Linked DNA regions of Homo sapiens: regions 1, 2 and 4 are each linked to region 3. The links are contacts of gene promoters, found by promoter capture Hi-C in blood cells and fetal thymus (Javierre and others, 2016). All regions are on one chromosome and are shown on one strand. Each heading gives the region's core, a stretch centred on a gene start or on the middle of the fragment in contact. The rest is flanking DNA. Distances are from core to core; before and after follow the strand shown. Region 1 holds the start of HSD17B4 (hydroxysteroid 17-beta dehydrogenase 4). Region 2 has its middle 14 kb from the start of SRFBP1. Region 3 holds the start of PRR16 (proline rich 16). Region 4 has its middle 2.3 kb from the start of DTWD2.

Evidence for each region. The method cuts DNA at HindIII sites, captures the fragments that hold promoters and counts their contacts. A CHiCAGO score of 5 or more calls a contact.
Region 1: the fragment with the promoter of HSD17B4 here is called in contact with the fragment with the promoter of PRR16 in region 3 in 1 of 17 cell types (total B cells); the score reaches 5.1 in total B cells.
Region 2: a contact is called between a fragment that was not itself captured here and the fragment with the promoter of PRR16 in region 3, in 1 of 17 cell types (megakaryocytes). The highest score is 6.4, in megakaryocytes.
Region 4: a contact is called between a fragment that was not itself captured here and the fragment with the promoter of PRR16 in region 3, in 2 of 17 cell types (total B cells and naive B cells). The highest score is 9.1, in total B cells.

What each region holds. Positions count from the first base shown.
Region 1 is chr5:119,450,287-119,454,166 of GRCh38, forward strand. HSD17B4 (hydroxysteroid 17-beta dehydrogenase 4) reads left to right here and starts at 2,211. Exons shown (of 24, transcript NM_000414.4): 1 at 2,211-2,347. The coding sequence starts at 2,290. RefSeq lists an enhancer at 2,312-2,361. The HindIII fragment of the contact is 7,394 bases long and covers 1-3,880 here.
Region 2 is chr5:121,945,578-121,949,392 of GRCh38, forward strand. No RefSeq gene overlaps it. Among named protein-coding and RNA genes, the nearest start is that of SRFBP1, 14 kb to the right of the region's middle. The HindIII fragment of the contact is 2,114 bases long and covers 720-2,833 here.
Region 3 is chr5:120,461,876-120,465,913 of GRCh38, forward strand. PRR16 (proline rich 16) reads left to right here and starts at 2,425. Exons shown (of 2, transcript NM_001300783.2): 1 at 2,425-2,770. The coding sequence starts at 2,612. RefSeq lists a silencer at 2,344-2,393 and an enhancer at 2,799-3,300. The HindIII fragment of the contact is 2,017 bases long and covers 1,245-3,261 here.
Region 4 is chr5:118,988,761-118,992,875 of GRCh38, forward strand. No RefSeq gene overlaps it. Among named protein-coding and RNA genes, the nearest start is that of DTWD2, 2.3 kb to the left of the region's middle. The HindIII fragment of the contact is 1,187 bases long and covers 658-1,844 here.

The sequences.
Region 1 (3,880 bases), core at 961-3,460, 1.0 Mb before region 3:
TGTTTTCAGGCTTGAGGTTGGAGCCCTCACTGGGGACCTGCCCTCTTCTGCCCAGAATTTCCCTGCCTTCTATCCCTGTCAGTTCCATTTGCAAATACAGTTTATCTCAACATTTCTTCTTCAACATTTCCTCTGCCTTACTTCTGGTTTCCATAATTTCCCCCAAATCTTTTCTATGTTCTCCTTGCCCACCTCTAATTATTGGGGGAACCTGCCCCCAATATTTCAACATAGGTTCTTTCTATTTTCCATAAGTGTCAGTCAGCTGAGAAATAGAGAAAGAGTACAAAGGGAGGAATTTTACAGCTGGGCTGCCGGGGGTGACATCACATATCAGTAGGACCGTGATGCCCACCTGAGCCTCAAACCAGCAAGTTTTTTATTAAGGGTTGCAAAAGGGAAGGGGGTGTAAGAACAGAGAGTAGGTACAAACATCACATGCTTCAAAGGGCAAAAAGCAGAACAAAGATCATATGCTTCTGAGGGAACAGGACAAAGGGCAAAAGCAGAACTACTAATAAGGGTCCAACAAAGATCACAAGACAAAGGGCAAAAGCAGAGCTACTGATAAGGGTCTATGTTCAGCAGTGCATGTATTATCTTGATAAACATCTTAAACAACAGAAACAGGGTTCGAGAGCAGACAACTGGTCTGACCACAAATTTACCAGGGCCGGGTTTTTCCCCACCGTAGTAAGCCTGAGGGTACTGCAGGAGACCAGGGCATATCTCAGTCCTTATCTCAACCACATAAGACAGAGCAGCCGTTTATAGACCTCCCCCCAGGAATGCATTCCTTTACCAGGGTATTAATATTAATATTCCTTGCTAGGAAAAGAATTTAGTGATATCTTCCCTACTTGCACGTCCGTTTATAGGCTCTCTGCAAGAAGAAAAATATGGCTGTTTTTGCCCAACCCCGCAGGCAGTCAGCCCATATGGTTGACTTCCCTTGTTCCCTAAAAATTGCTGTTATTCTGTTCTTTTTCAAGGTGCACTGATTTCATATTGTTCAAACACACATGTTTTACAATCAATTTGTACAGTTAACACAATTATCACAGTGGTCCTGAGGTGACGTACACCTTCAGCTTACGAAGATAACAGGATTAAGAGATTAAAGTAAAGACAGGCATAAGAAATTATAAAAGTATTATTTGGGAACTGATAAATGTCCGTGAAATCTTCACAATTTATGTTCCTCTGCTGCGGCTCTAGCAGGTCCCTCTGTTTGGGGTCCATGACTTCCCGCAACATCCAATCAATCCTCCATAATGGGCAAAGTGATCTTTCCATAGTGTAAATGTGTTCCCACCACTCTCTGGAGTAATCCTACTTAAAACCGTTTTCAGCACAAAATTCAAACATCTAAACATGATCTTGCTGGCTTTGCTTTTGTGGCTTTACCCTCTTTCTCCCCAAACCTAGCTAGTGTTTGTGCTGCCTGTAATGCCCTTCTTTCTTTGCAGGGGTCGCCACTTTAGGTCCTGGTCCTCCTTCAGAAAGTTTTTCCTCTTTCTCCCCAGCGGGGATAGGGTCTGTTTATTTTGACACCATTAGCTCACTTACACACATTGGTCACAAGTCTAGGCTGCACCGTTATTGAAAGTTTACCATCTGACTCTGAGTAGCTTGAGGATCCTATCAAAACTCAGGAGATGCTCAGTAAATGTTGATTGAACTATGACTGTTCTCAACATACAAACGCAAGATCATTTAGGAACACTTGTCAAAATGTTTTTGCCCCTTGAGATTCTATTTTGGGAGGTAAGCAGTGGGGGTCCAGGACTCTGCATTTTGACAGTCCCCTGATGTTTGCATGTAGAAGTGCAGGGATTATTACACTGACAAATCTTTACCATCCCTAAGGGGGACTTTCCTTCCCAGGGGCTATCTCTGGAAGCCCCTCAAGGATAGGGGCCGCATGCTGTTTCTCTAGGTCAGCAACTAAACCCAGAAAACGTTTATTGAGTGAATGATGAAACGACAGGTGAATAGATGAACGCAAGGTGTCGAGTTAACTATTCTTCTACACAAGTCCTAGCAGCTCCCATTGCTTCCAGCCGCAGAAATGGCCCCTGGAAGGCAAGTCTTCCAGCGAGTGGAGTCACTCTTAACTACATTTCCCAGGATTCCAAGGGAGCCGCGCGCTCTGCGCTCATCTTCCTACCAGAAATCGGCAAGTCACTGACCCTCGTCCCGCCCCCGCCATTCCCCGCCTCCTCCTGTCCCGCAGTCGGCGTCCAGCGGCTCTGCTTGTTCGTGTGTGTGTCGTTGCAGGCCTTATTCATGGGCTCACCGCTGAGGTTCGACGGGCGGGTGGTACTGGTCACCGGCGCGGGGGCAGGTGAGCATGCGAAGGTTGGAGGCCGCGCCCCTTGCTGAGGCGCAGCTGGCTGCTCTTTTCGGGCCGGCATACGCGCGCAGCCGCAGCTGAGGTCACCCCGCTGAGGTGGTGGGGAGGGGAATGGTTATTCTTGAGGCACCGCATCTCTTGAGGAGGAAAGAGCCGGAAACACCTGGTCTCTCAAGCAGGTACAGCCCGCTTCTCCCCAGCACCCCGGTGTGGGCTTCCCAAGGTCCTGCCTGAGAGGAGAGGCCAGGCTGGGCTGCTGATTGCAAAACTGGGTGAAAGTTCTCCCTGACCCTTATCTGTGGGCATCGATTGTTACTCTTCCTGCAATTAACTCTCTTAGATCTTTGCCTAGTCTTTTAAAGGACTGAAAAGCCGCGAGGGGCGGGGGCTGGAATTCGCCCCCTGAAGCGCAGAGATGTCAGCTCCTGAAAAGTCATTCGGTCGTTCAGTGTTTGTTTCCCTCTGTCGTAAGATTTTAAGTTCGTGAGAGGACCTTCTTTAAAGAGGGCGTCTGATAAGAGCCCTTCCCCGTTGGAGTTTGTATGCTTAGCAAGTCACAATCTGTTCTCGAAATCCACTGGAGTCTTGGCAGAGGTTGTAAGCTCAAATGCGCACAGGGGTCAGGCGTATGATGGAGAAAGAAAATGGGAGTAGGATGGGCACATCTGAGGAACTGGAGAGCAGAGAATTCCGAAGTGGACCGGCCAGTGGGAAAGTTGCCTGTATTTCAGGAGCGGCAAAATGGAAAATTGTTATGTGAAATAGCCCCATTTTTTAAAGTACAAAAAATTAAAACAAACCATTCATACCAACATAGATGCTGTGCAGTGAGATTTTACATTAGTTTCTCACCAGTGGGTGACCTCTGTAACCTCCAAGTGCAGGGATCTTGACATTATGCACCTTTGATTCTCCACTGGTAGTACCTTATACCTGGAAAGGCCCTAATGCATGAATTATTTGAGTTATATATTAAACGTTACAAACTGGAATTCTGTCAATTAATTCCTATGTACTTTCATATCTGTATTGATAAAGTGGCTTCTTATGCTGCCTTTCAGAAAATGCTTTCAGTGTTGATGAATAGCCAAGTATTTTATACCCATAGCTGTCTGGTTATCTCTGCATGGGCATGTATTTGGGTGTAGTCATACCTTCTAAATGTTTTTAGGAAAACATTTTGTTTACACTTTGCTTTTATTGTAAATAATGTATTTTACAACGCTTGGTGTTTTAAATCTTTTTTGACAGCTCTTGGATAATTTTCATGCAGGAGGTCCAGGGATTACATTCTAAGACGTTTTTGCCATCGCTAAGGAGACTTTCCTTTTCAGGGGCTATATCTGAAAATCATTCAAGGATAGGGACTGCTTCTTTTGACACCATTAGCATACTTACACATGGTATGCAGTACATTTTACACCAGTACTCAGTACACTTACACAAGCACATACATCTGTATTTAAAACCAGTTCATGATATAGTGTGTAGTACAGGCAATGCATCCTGAAATTTATTTTCTAT
Region 2 (3,815 bases), core at 527-3,026, 1.5 Mb after region 3:
AAAATGAGTGACTGTTTTATAAATCAATTTCAACTTTATCTTCACTGTAGTCAGCCTTCCCCATACATAAGATTTATTGAGATATTCATGGATTTTCCTTCTGCTTTCTGAAAGCACCTAATTTAGATCTAACCCCTGCTTCATCAGATCCTCTCCAAAATTACTCAAGCAAACCCCTAATTCTACAGATGCTTTCAAACACCTTCTTACCGAGACCCTATAGTGTGCATTCTCCCTCATTGAAACAAGTAATAAATCTAACTCATTTAACTACAGCTGTGCTTCTGGTGGTCTTTGGCTCAAGGTCATTGCATGGCAATAGGCCTAATATTAGACAATGTAATCTTGAAGTGTTTCTTGGGGTATAAGATACCATGGAAATACAGTTGCTGTGTTGTGTCATTCATTTTCTTTTGGTTCATTAAGTTCTTAGAGATACACTTTTCTGAGAAAAATCATTCTGCAGGAACCTAAAAAGGGACCAAAAATTTCAGAATTGCTTAAGAATCTACTGTCAGTGTGTTTTGATAAATTCTGTGTATCCAAACAGAAAGCAACCATGTAAAAGGCTAACTTAGATAAAAGTAATGTAAATATCTTTGCATATTAACATACTATGAAAGGTACCATTCAAGGCAAAAAATAAATAGGAGGAAAAGAGGTAATTTTTATAAAAAATTGGAGCAGTGAGGTCTGCTTTTTATTAAAAAGATTTTCTAAGCTTTATCATAAATATTGTCATTTTTGCAATTACAGTATGATATTATATGGTAACTGGTCATATATAACAATCTACTGCATCAACAGAATGACTTGGATTAATCTGGTATGTCATGTAGCACACATACAGTTAAAATCTAGCATGAAAGGTTAAATAGGAAATTTTGCCCAATATTTCTTAAAAGTGAAATGCTCCATTGTGATGAGATTATTTGGTTTAGTATCACATTACTCTCTGATATCTTTTAAACTTTTTGGGAACAGGGATAATTTGTAGAAAAATCTTGATTTAGGTTAAATATAGGTTTTTAAAACTATTAATGTTGTCCTTTTTATACTTTAATAAGAATGTACAAGGAAATTACTTTAGAAGAAAATGAGCTTCTATTTAAATGTTGAAATATTTGTATGCTGTGAGTTTAAGAAGCCTTTAATTACCTGTAAGTTTTAGAGAACCATCTGCTTTCTATGATTGTAAAAAAAAAAAAACTATGAAAGCATCATTTTAAAGGCTCCCTACAGACTATATTGATTTTCAAGTATATTTAATAAATTATTAATCAAACACAAAAAGTAGAGACATTCCTACATATTGGTGTGTCACGTAACTCCCTAATACCATTATCGTCTTTGTTTTTAAGTCCAAACTTCTGCAGATTTTATCCTCTCCCACAGCCCAGCCCTTGGTACTTCATTGCACTATACAGTTGGTTGTTATGGACATAAACATAGATCAGGGGTTTTCAACCTCAGCACTATTGACATTTGGGCTGGATAATTTTTTGTTGAATTAATAGTGTCCATGTGGCTAGGTCAGGTATGAAAAAGTCTGGTGTGAAGCAACCACTACCTGATGAGGCTCATAGCTTAGATAGTGGTACATGTTGGGAGGCAAGAGAGGAAGCGGTCACTGGCTCAGCCAACACAGTCAAGTCTGTCAATCAATGGCAAAGGACTGGGATGATGATCTTATACTAAAGCGCTCTGAAATCCAGCTTAGTGCCTAGGAGGTCACTGGTGACATTGAGAAGTAGACTTGCAGTAGAGTGGTAACAAGTAGTTACTAAAGTTCAGTGAGCACATTGAGGAATCTCTGTAAAACAATGAAGCAGAGATATCATGCTTGACTATGAACTGGGCAAAATAACAGAGCTTCTCTCTCTTACTCTTCTTCTTACTAGAGAAACAGCATTTGATTTCTTCAAGGAGAGGCTAGGTGACCTGCTAATTTTACCTCTCCAGGCCATATATCTTGCCTCTCTCTTGGTCTTGATGGAGAAGTGGACCAATAAATTTGTTACAAATACTTTATTCCTTGATGGACAAATTAAAAATGTTTTCTCTGAACAGGCTTACATTATAAACCTTAAGTAAAACTATTTATAGTTGAATTTCCAAATAAACAATTTATTGGGGAATAATATACAAGGATTAAAATTGCAATTCAATGCACACAATCCAGAGTAGCTCTTAGATGTGTCTGAAAAACAAAAAGAAAGGTTGGAATTTTATTGAGAAAAAGAGAAAAGTTATGTACGTTGCTTTGAAAGAAAGTTCATTGGCACTAGCAGTGTTGAGCTGAGTGTAGGAGCTTCTGAGCTCTAAGCAGTAAGTGGCAGCAGTTACTATGTAAGATGTAATCTTAAAATGATGTTTTTTTTCTCTTGAATTGCAAAAATAGTTCCTGGAAGGGATTTGGGTGTCCTTCCCCATGGCTTCCCAATTCCATTTTAGTTGGGTATGACAGGAATGTCTCCATTTTGAATAATTAACTTTCACAATATCATTCACTTTACTTTCTTTCAAACTTCTATCTTTATGTTTAAGTATAATGCAGCAAAATTTCCTTTAGAGATTACTCAATCATTTACAGATCCATAAATTTCCAGGTATTCTGAAACCTACTTCTATCAGTCTATTAAGATTCATGTATTTTGTTTTTTGCCTTAAAACACCTTACTTCAGTTTTTTCAAATGTTTAATAACTTAAGAAAACTATCATTTTTTAGGAGGGACGTGTGTAGAAAATATATTTAAGAAATTAAAAAGGTTTTCATTGCTAGGCCTAACAATGTTTTTGGAGATTTTAGGGGTTTATGAAAAATCCTTTGGAAGCTTTATTCTATTTGTGAAATAGTGTGTCTTCTATTACCTAGTTTTATCTAACTAATTTCCTCCAGTGGAAACTTTCTCTTCCTATTCTTCAGCTTCCTATTAAAGTGCTTCCTTCCTTGAAAATGAAACTCAAATTCCACCTCTTGTAGGAAGCATTCTCGTCAAACTGCTTGTTCACTGCCCTGTTAGACTCCAATAGTGCCTCACACTCTTACTACAGTACTTAATGCAGTCTATCTTGGTATTAGAATCATTTAAGTTACTACTCTGTAAGTCCACGGTGGACATGGACAATGTCTTCATCATTTTTGTATCTCCTACTGAACCTAGTACAATACTTTGCAAAATAGACACTCAAAAACGTTTATTAAAATGAATCAAAGCCAATCACTATGTTGAAAAGAATCTGAACTGGGTTTTAATAATGTTTTCTGAACTTAACTTTAAATTATTACAGGCTTTGTTGCAATAATCTTGAGCCTATTTTGGGCTAATTGGCAAATAATTAAAAGAAGTAAATTGTATATGTGAAGGAATGTATAGTTTATAAATTATATTACCTCATTAATTATTGATAATTAATAAATAATTAGATGAATGGGAATTAATGACATGGTGGCTACAAACTATTAATGTAATTTTACATTCATATCATAGAGCTGTTACAAAATTGCTACCAGTGATTTTATGTCAAAAGACTTGGACTGCCCCCTTATTACCTCTATGACCTTAGGTATATTTGTTATTCATAAGACATGAATCCCTCTTATGTACCATGCCTATCTCACAAAGTTACTGTTAAGATCAAATGAAATAATAAAAATAACAGTAAATTATTTAGAGGTAAATATTCATCAAGAACTCTATACTGTGTTTTCATTTAAACATCACAACAATCCTGTGAGATAGATTATCACTCCTATTTTCACAAATAAAGACGCCTTGGCACAGAGATCTTACATAATTTCCCCAAGATCATA
Region 3 (4,038 bases), core at 1,175-3,674:
AATCCTACCAGCTTTCTCAGTTTGGGCCTGGAAGCCAATTTTAACTTTTCCCTATTCAGTTAACTCTATATTGTATAAAGACATAGATAGATAGATGATAGTGATTATTTCAGAGTGAACTGTGATATGGGTGTGGGTGGTGTGTTTCTAAGCAATAATTATGATTTGATTTTAAGTCAGAATTATTTGTTTCAGTAGCAGCAGTGGATATCAGAGTATCAGAAGAGAACAGTTTTTTTTGTTTTGTTTTTGTGACGGAATCTCGCTCTGTCACCCAGACTGGAGTGCACTGGCACGATCTCAGCTCACTGCAAGCTCCACCTCCCGGGTTCAAGCAATTCTCTGCCTCAGCCTCCTGAGTAGCTGGGATTACAGGCTCCTGCCACCATGCCCAGCTAATTTTTGTATTTTTAATAGAGATGGGGTTTTGCCATCTTGGCCAGGGTGGTCTTGAACTCCTGACCTTGTGATCCACCCATCTCGGCCTCCCAGAGTGCTGGGATTACAGGCATGAGCCACTGTGCCTAGCCTGTTTTGTTTTTTTTTTTTTAATCTTTAGTGAATGAGATTCAGAGTAGCATGGACATCTTCTTATATTGTGGGAGGATTATTTTGTCACTGTGAGGGAAATCACAATTTCCTTTCCTCCTCTCCCATATCCTTGTCTAAAGTCACTTAACTTTGAGTTTGGCGGCTTTCTTACACACTTGCCTACTATTAAGAGTCAAAAATAATTCCAATCTAGAAGAATAGTACTTTCTCTTTTCCCCTACCATTAGCTTTTGCTAGTTTTGACAATTTTGGGGAGTCTGTAAACCTGATATAATTATTTTAATGTTATATTTTTTATAAAATAAAGAATTTGAGGAGAAAAAGGATGTTTTAAAAATCTAATTCTCCCTACCTCAGAGAACTCAAGCATATTACTTATTTCACACTTTTAATCATTTCTTCTCTTTTTCTTTTCTCCAGTTTGCATGCTGCAGACTTGTTCTTATAATCTCTTCTTAAGTCTTTCCAGCAGCATCTGCTTTTCACCTTTTCTCATTTCTTCCCCTGATTTTTCAATGCAGTTTTCAATGGTTTTCTTTTGACACCACTTTCAAATTTCAATTTTTTCTTCTGTTCTCTTTCTTCCTCTATATTCCACATATGACTTCCAAAGGTTTTGTAAAGATGAATTGTCCAGGATTAAGAGAGTGATTGATTAAGAGCCTACAGAACTGGGAAGAGGAGAGCTGCCAAGCTTTTCTTTATGTGTAGCACAGTGGAGCTACCCAGAGTGTGAGAAGCAAGAAACAGAGAGCCTTGCTAAGGCACGACGAAAAGGGGAAGCCTATTAAAAGAATGATCTGGAGGAGTGTGCAGTGAAGAAAATAAAGTAGAGCCAGCCTGCTGGGTCAGTAGCTAATAGCCCATGGGTTTACAACTAAGGAAGTTAAAATTCTAGCTAATGAGAATTGTAGACACCTACTGAGAGTGAACCGAAGGCTTCCTATTAACTTCCCTTCTTGGGTCTTTTTGACAGAACAGTCAGAAAGTTGTTTCCTATTTGTTTAGTAGCAAAAGAGTTGAAATGGAGGTTTAAAAAATGATGAAAGAGAAGTTGGAGGCAATCTCTTACTCAGCTCCTTCACGAGGTCCAAATACGATGTCTCCCCCACTCCACTCAAAATGTAAATCAGCATAGGTCACAAAAAGAGGAAGGACAGTTAAAAAAAAAAAAAAGAGTTGGGCCAAATAAGACATACAGCCAAGATGACTGAGACAATCAGAGAGGATTTGGGGTGTGGGGACTTCAAATTAATAAATCCGGTATTAGCTTTGTGGAATTAGCAGGATTAGGGTACCTCTTTCAAGAACACTGGTTGAATTTCATGGTTTCAATAGATGACCATTAGCTGTTATGTGCACCCCCCCCCCCCTTTTTTCTTGCAGAAGTTAAGAAGTCTGCTTAACTCGCAGGTCACCAAGAGATTGATTAAAGGCCTCTGGACATCATTTGGGTTTGGATAAATCTGTAGGGCCACTTTACAGACTGTCTCCAACTCCTGATCCCACTGTGGTTCTTTCTGAATTGATCCAGGTCCCTGCTAGCAAGTGAAGCAGAAAGAATCCAGGCTAGTTGTGAGATGACATACAGCAAGCAGGCTGAGATGATGGGGACATTTCAGAACCAAGAGGAGGGGGCGGGCAGGACACGGACTTGTCTCCCCCACCTTGATGCCAAGGTGGCATCTGGGAGATATCTCGAAGGGCAACGTCGAGGGGACTGCAAGCGTCAACCCTGGCGCGGCAGCACGGCGCCCCTCTCCGCGGGCGGGGAGCGAGCGCGTGTGCGCGAGAGCGCCGGGCGGCGGCGGGAGGAGGCGCAGGCGCGCTGCTCGCCCGTCTGCAGCCCCGAGCCGAGCGCCGCGTCTCGGGAGTTGATGGCAGCACCACTGTGCGGCCGCCCGGCCGAGCGCGGAGCGCAGCCACTCGCCGCTGCCCAGGGAGCGCCCAAGATGTGGGGGGACCGGGGCGGCAGCGGCCGTAGCAGCGCCAGGGACGGGGGCACGCAGCAGCCTCCGCTCGCCCGCCTGTCCTGACCTGCCTCGCTTGCCCCCAAAGAATGTCAGCCAAGTCCAAGGGGAACCCCTCCTCGTCCTGTCCAGCCGAGGGACCGCCGGCAGCCTCCAAAACCAAGGTGAAGGAACAGATCAAGATCATCGTGGAGGATTTGGAATTAGTCCTGGGCGACCTGAAGGACGTGGCCAAGGAACTTAAGGAGGTGAGAGGCGCAGGGGTGGGGAGGGAGTTCGGCACCCTTCGACCCCTCCGGGGTCCCCTTTCCGATTTTCAGCAGGGACAGCCAGATTTCCAAACTCCTGGGAAACTACAGAAAAGGCGCCTGCAGACGGACTTTCTTTGCTCCTGGAGTCCTGAGAGGAGTTGTTGTTGCACTTTTTAATTTTTTTTTTTAATCAGGAAGAAATCAACTAGTGTTTTAATCGATGGACCTGGGCTGGTGGGAGGGATGAACGCACGCGTGTCTCTGAATCTGTGTGTGTGACGACGGGGGAGAGGGTTAGCTGGGGGTGTGTCGGCAGAGGAAGTCGTGAGCAGCCCGGCTGGAGCGTGCAAGATGCTCCTCTCCTGCCCTATTGCTTCCCCAGAGTCCTTTGGCAAGTCCGCTGCCTATCTGTCAGCCTCCCCAAGTCAGGGCTGAAGAGGGGCCGGGTTCTGGGCCCTGGGCCAGATCAGGGAGGGCAGCCTGGAGGAAGCTTGGCTCAGACTACCCTCCCTGTCTCTCGAGCCTCGCTGTAGGGAAGGCGACCCGGGCTGCTGGCAGCCTTGGGGCTAAGGAGGGGGTCTGGGACTTTCTCACTTTCTCAGTTTCTGAAGCATCCCCTGCTCTCCTCCGAACGTCGTTACCAGTAACTCTGGGCCTTCCCGCCACCCTACCTCTGCTTCCTTCCTTCCACCCTGTCGCCACTTGGCATTGAACCCGAGAAGCAGGACGCGCAGGAGAGTGTATGTGTGGCCGGGGTCTTGCCATTGGCGTCCTGGCTCTCTGCAGCTGGGACTGCTTCGGTTCTTCCCCGCTTTTCCTATCCCACTTCGGTTCAGCCCTACTCCCGCCCGCCCCTAGCCCCAGGTGATCCAGATGGAAAGAAGCAGAGAAGGTGTCAGGGCTGAGGCTGCGTAACTCAGGCGGCGGCTCCGGGCGGGGGCGGGGGCCGGGCTGGGAGGGGTGGGGTCTCCCGAGCCAGGCTGGCTGCCGGCGGCGTCGCGGAGCTGGTAGCAGAGTCCCAGCGCGCCGCTCACTACTGAATGGGGTCCTGGTGCGGTTCTCGGTGAGGGAGTCCGCAGCTCCGCTGCGTGAGAGCTAAGACTAGAACTTCGAAGGTGGCGGTGGCTGCAGCGGGAAAAGGGGTGGGGCGTAGTCTAGGTCCAAAATTGTAATCCTGTTTCTGAAGCCAACGGGGAGGAGACTGAGGGTTGTTTGGATGACTGGCCTCTAGAGATTAACCTCCTGTATTCAATTTCCAAACCAAA
Region 4 (4,115 bases), core at 1-2,500, 1.5 Mb before region 3:
GTTAAGTAGCGTCATTGGGAGAGGTAAGGGAAACCTCCCCGAGAGGACCCCAGTACCAAGCCCGAATTTAACTCCTTTAAAAGTTAAAATAAAATGGAATTCTGCATTTTCCGCCTTGGGATGGCAGTTTAAGAATTTGCAGGATTTCCACGCGTGCATGCATCGCAGGTGCGGCAGCTGATGCACTTATTATTTAAAGGCCAACAAAGGAGAGGTTATATCCACTGGGAACTACTCACAGCTGGTCCGTTTCCTTATGTGAATTTCCTGCTCTTCTATGTCTTGTGCTAATAAGACATCAAGCATGCTATTTTACACTGGACACCAGATATTTGTTAAATTAGATTTTTAGATCGTCCCCGATCAGGAAGCAATAGGAGAGCTGGCCCGGGGTACCAATAGGTTTTATGTATGAGGAAACAAGCCCTAGAAAGGTAACGTTGCCCAGGTATTTAACAACTACTGGATACGGCGGTATATAGCACAGCAGCTGTTTTTTAAAAGCCAAAATGAAATCTATGTTAGAATGAAGGCAGAAATACTATTTACCCAAAATGGGTATCGAATTCCTTTTGTTTATTAATGCTTTGTGTTACTTCCAGCAATACACAACATTAAAACAGAATTAAGCTTGGTTTTGATCAATCATGTGAATTAAGCTTAGGAATCACAGTTGTCTTAACTCTATAGTTGTAATAGATTAAATGTGAGGCAAAGTAGACAACACAGTAATAGAGCAAATACTGTATTTCTTAAAATGTTTATTTCACATTAGATTTTTCAGTCATCTTAAAATCAAGTTTGTGAATAAAATACCGTGCTGTTTTCAACTATCCTACGTTCTTTCCCCCCGGAAACAGCACCTCTCTTTTCCTTTGGAGCGTCCTATGTGAGGGATAGAAAAAGGCTGAAACACCCACCTGGTGATGGACGTAGAGTGGGAGAAAGAACTAGCAATTATGCCATTTGGAATCGGAGGATAAACAAAATCCAGAAACTGTAGGAAAGGAGATGAATCAGAAAATTCATCTTGTCTGTAGATTTAGGTTGGGGAACCAATTCTTTAACTGCCAAAATTAAATTCTCATGTGACTTATCTTTAAACGAAAGGAAGCTGCTCATCTTTAATTTCAAGAGGTGAAATGTGCTCAAGTCCTCTAAGGTCCCTTGAGACTCCCAATTGTGTGGTGTGAGAAGACAGATGATAAGGAAAAAAAAAAAAACTTTTTATCTAAGGAATGCGAGCAGTCATGTCTCACTCTCCCTTGAGCTAAATAATTACCTCTTGAAGGCACTTGCTATGCAGGCCCTAGACTGACACCGAGTAGCCATAAAACGCCGTATACCCTATAGTTCAACAATATGTATAGCCAATCACTAACCAATGTTATTTCTGTAAATAAATGACACTTCCTGAGACATAGCTTTTGTAATGCCCCCCTCTGCTGATTCGTTCTCTTTTCTTTAAAAACTCCAGCCCATTTTGTTCTCCAGAGCACTCTCCACAGCAACCTGGAAGTACGACCTAGGCTACAGTCCTCAACGTTGGCCCAAATAAACTCTCTATATTAATTTTGCCTCTGCTCCTTCCTTTTAGGTTGATGTGAGCCTACTTACTTGGGGCTTCCTTTTAACACCCCATATCAGATTATTGGCTTTACCCTTCAAAGTATTCAAAATCCAAACATTTATCTCACCTACTACTTCTGCCCTGGTTCAAGCCCCCGTCATCTCTTGCATAGAATATTGCCAAAGACCTAAGTGGTCTCCTGCTCCATCTCCGCTCCTTATGAAGAAAATCCCCTACAAGTCCATTGTCTCAGAGGCTGACCAAAATCAAAGAAAGCTTCCATCCAGGCAAGACACAGAGTTGAGAAAGGAGAGCCATTTTCCTCTATAGGAAGCAAGAAATTCACCCAATATCCAGGTTTGTGAACAATGACCTTCAGACGCCTGAGGAAACATGCAGGTGAGGTTACCACCTTGGGGCAGACCCAGGTATCAGACCATCAGTGACTCAGCTTCTGGGAAGTGCCAAGACACCAGAAAGGGAAGTAAAATATCCTTTATGGGATACAGACAACTTACTAGTGTCAAGATAATGTATTGAGGTGTTAATGTATGTTTTGTTTATCTCCCAACTTCAGGTAGAAAACCAGACTTTTATGCTCCTTTGCCTCAGAGGAGTTTGGGTAGTAAAGACTGAGGACAATCTTAGGTCCACGCCTGGTGTTGTGGGAAAAGGAGATCCTGTTACTGGTAGAGGAAAGGGCCTCAGTAATGTAAGGGATTGAATATCCTGCCAGGCCTGCAGTATGAGGATTCAGCATTGTATAAGATTTGATTTAAATGAAATAAAAACATGGTATTTTTTGCTATATTCATTTTCTATCACTGTGGAACTAATAACCACAAATTTAGTGGCTTTTTCCTTTGTTTTTTTTTTTTTTTTTGAGATGGAGTCTCGCTCTGCCGCCCAGGCTGGAGAGTAGTGGCGTGATCTGGGCTCACTGCGACCTCCGCCTCCCGGGTTCAAGCAATTCTGCCTCAGCCTCCCGAGTAGCTGGGACTACAGGCTGCGTGCCACCATGTCAGGCCAGTTCTTTTTTTTTTTTTTTTTTTTTTTTTTTTGAGACGGAGTCTCGCTCTGTTGCCCAGGTCGGACTGCGGACTGCAGTGGCGCAATCTCGGCTCACTGCAAGCTCCGCTTCCCGGGTTCACGCCATTCTCCTGCCTCAGCCTCCCGAGTAGCTGGGACTACAGGCGCCCGCCACCGCGCCCGGCTAATTTTTTGTATTTTTAGTAGAGACGGGGTTTCACCTTGTTAGCCAGGATGGTCTCGATCTCCTGACCTCATGATCCACCCGCCTCGGCCTCCCAAAGTGCTGGGATTACAGGCGTGAGCCACCGCGCCCGGCCCAGTTCTGTATTTTTAGTAGAGACAGGGTTTTACTGTGTTGATCAGGCTGGTCTTGAACTCCGGACCTCAGGTGATCCACCCGCCTCGGCCTCCCAAAGTGCTGGGATTACAGGACTGAGCCACCGCGCCTGGCCACTTATTTTTCTTTTAAGTGAAAACCAAGTTTATTAGGCAAGCAAAAGAATAACAAATGGCTACTCCACAGGCAGAGCAGCAGCTTAGGCTACTTCATCAAGGATACTTTTTTTTTTTTTAATTATTATTATACTTTAAGTTCTAGGGTACATGTGCACGACATGCAGGTTTGTTACATATGTATACATGTGCCATGTTGGTGTGCTGCACCCATCAACTCGTCATTTACATTAGGTCTATCTCCTAATGCTATCCCTCCCCGCTCCCCTCACCCCACAACAGGCCCTGGTGTGTGATGTTCCCCTTCCTGTGTCCAAGTGTTCTCATTGTTCAATTCCCACCTGTGAGTGAGAACATGCAGTGTTTGGTTTTCTGTCCTTGCGATAGTTTGTTGAGAATGATGGTTTCCAGCTTCACCCATGTCCCTACAAAGGATATGAACTCATCCTTTTTTATGGCTGCATAGTATTCCATGGTGTATATGTGCCACATTTTCTTAATCCAGTCTATCATTGATGGGCATTTGGGTTGGTTCCAAGTCTTTGCTAATGTGAATAGTGCCGCAATAAACATATGTGTGCATGTGTCTTTATAGCAGCATGATTTATAATCCTCTGGGTATATACCCAGTAATGGGATGGCTGGGTGAAATGGTATTTCTAGTTCTAGATCCTTGAGGAATAGCCACACTGTCTTCCACAGTGGTTGAACTAGTTTACAGTCCCACCAACAGTGTAAAAGTGTTCCTGTTTCTCCACATCCTCTCCAGCACCAGTTGTTTCCTGACTTTTTAATGATTGCTATTCTAACTGATGTGAGATGGTATCTCATTGTGGTTTTGATTTCCATTTCTCTGATGGCCAGTGATGATGAGCATTTTTTCATGTGTTTTTTGGCTGCATAAATGTCTTCTTTTGAGAAGTGTCTGTTCATATCCTTTGCCCACTTTTTGATGGGGTTGTTTGATTTTTTTCTTGTAAATTTGTTTAAGCTCTTTGTAGATTCTGGATACTAGCCCTTTATCAGATGGGTAGATTGCAGAAATTTTCTCCCATTCTGT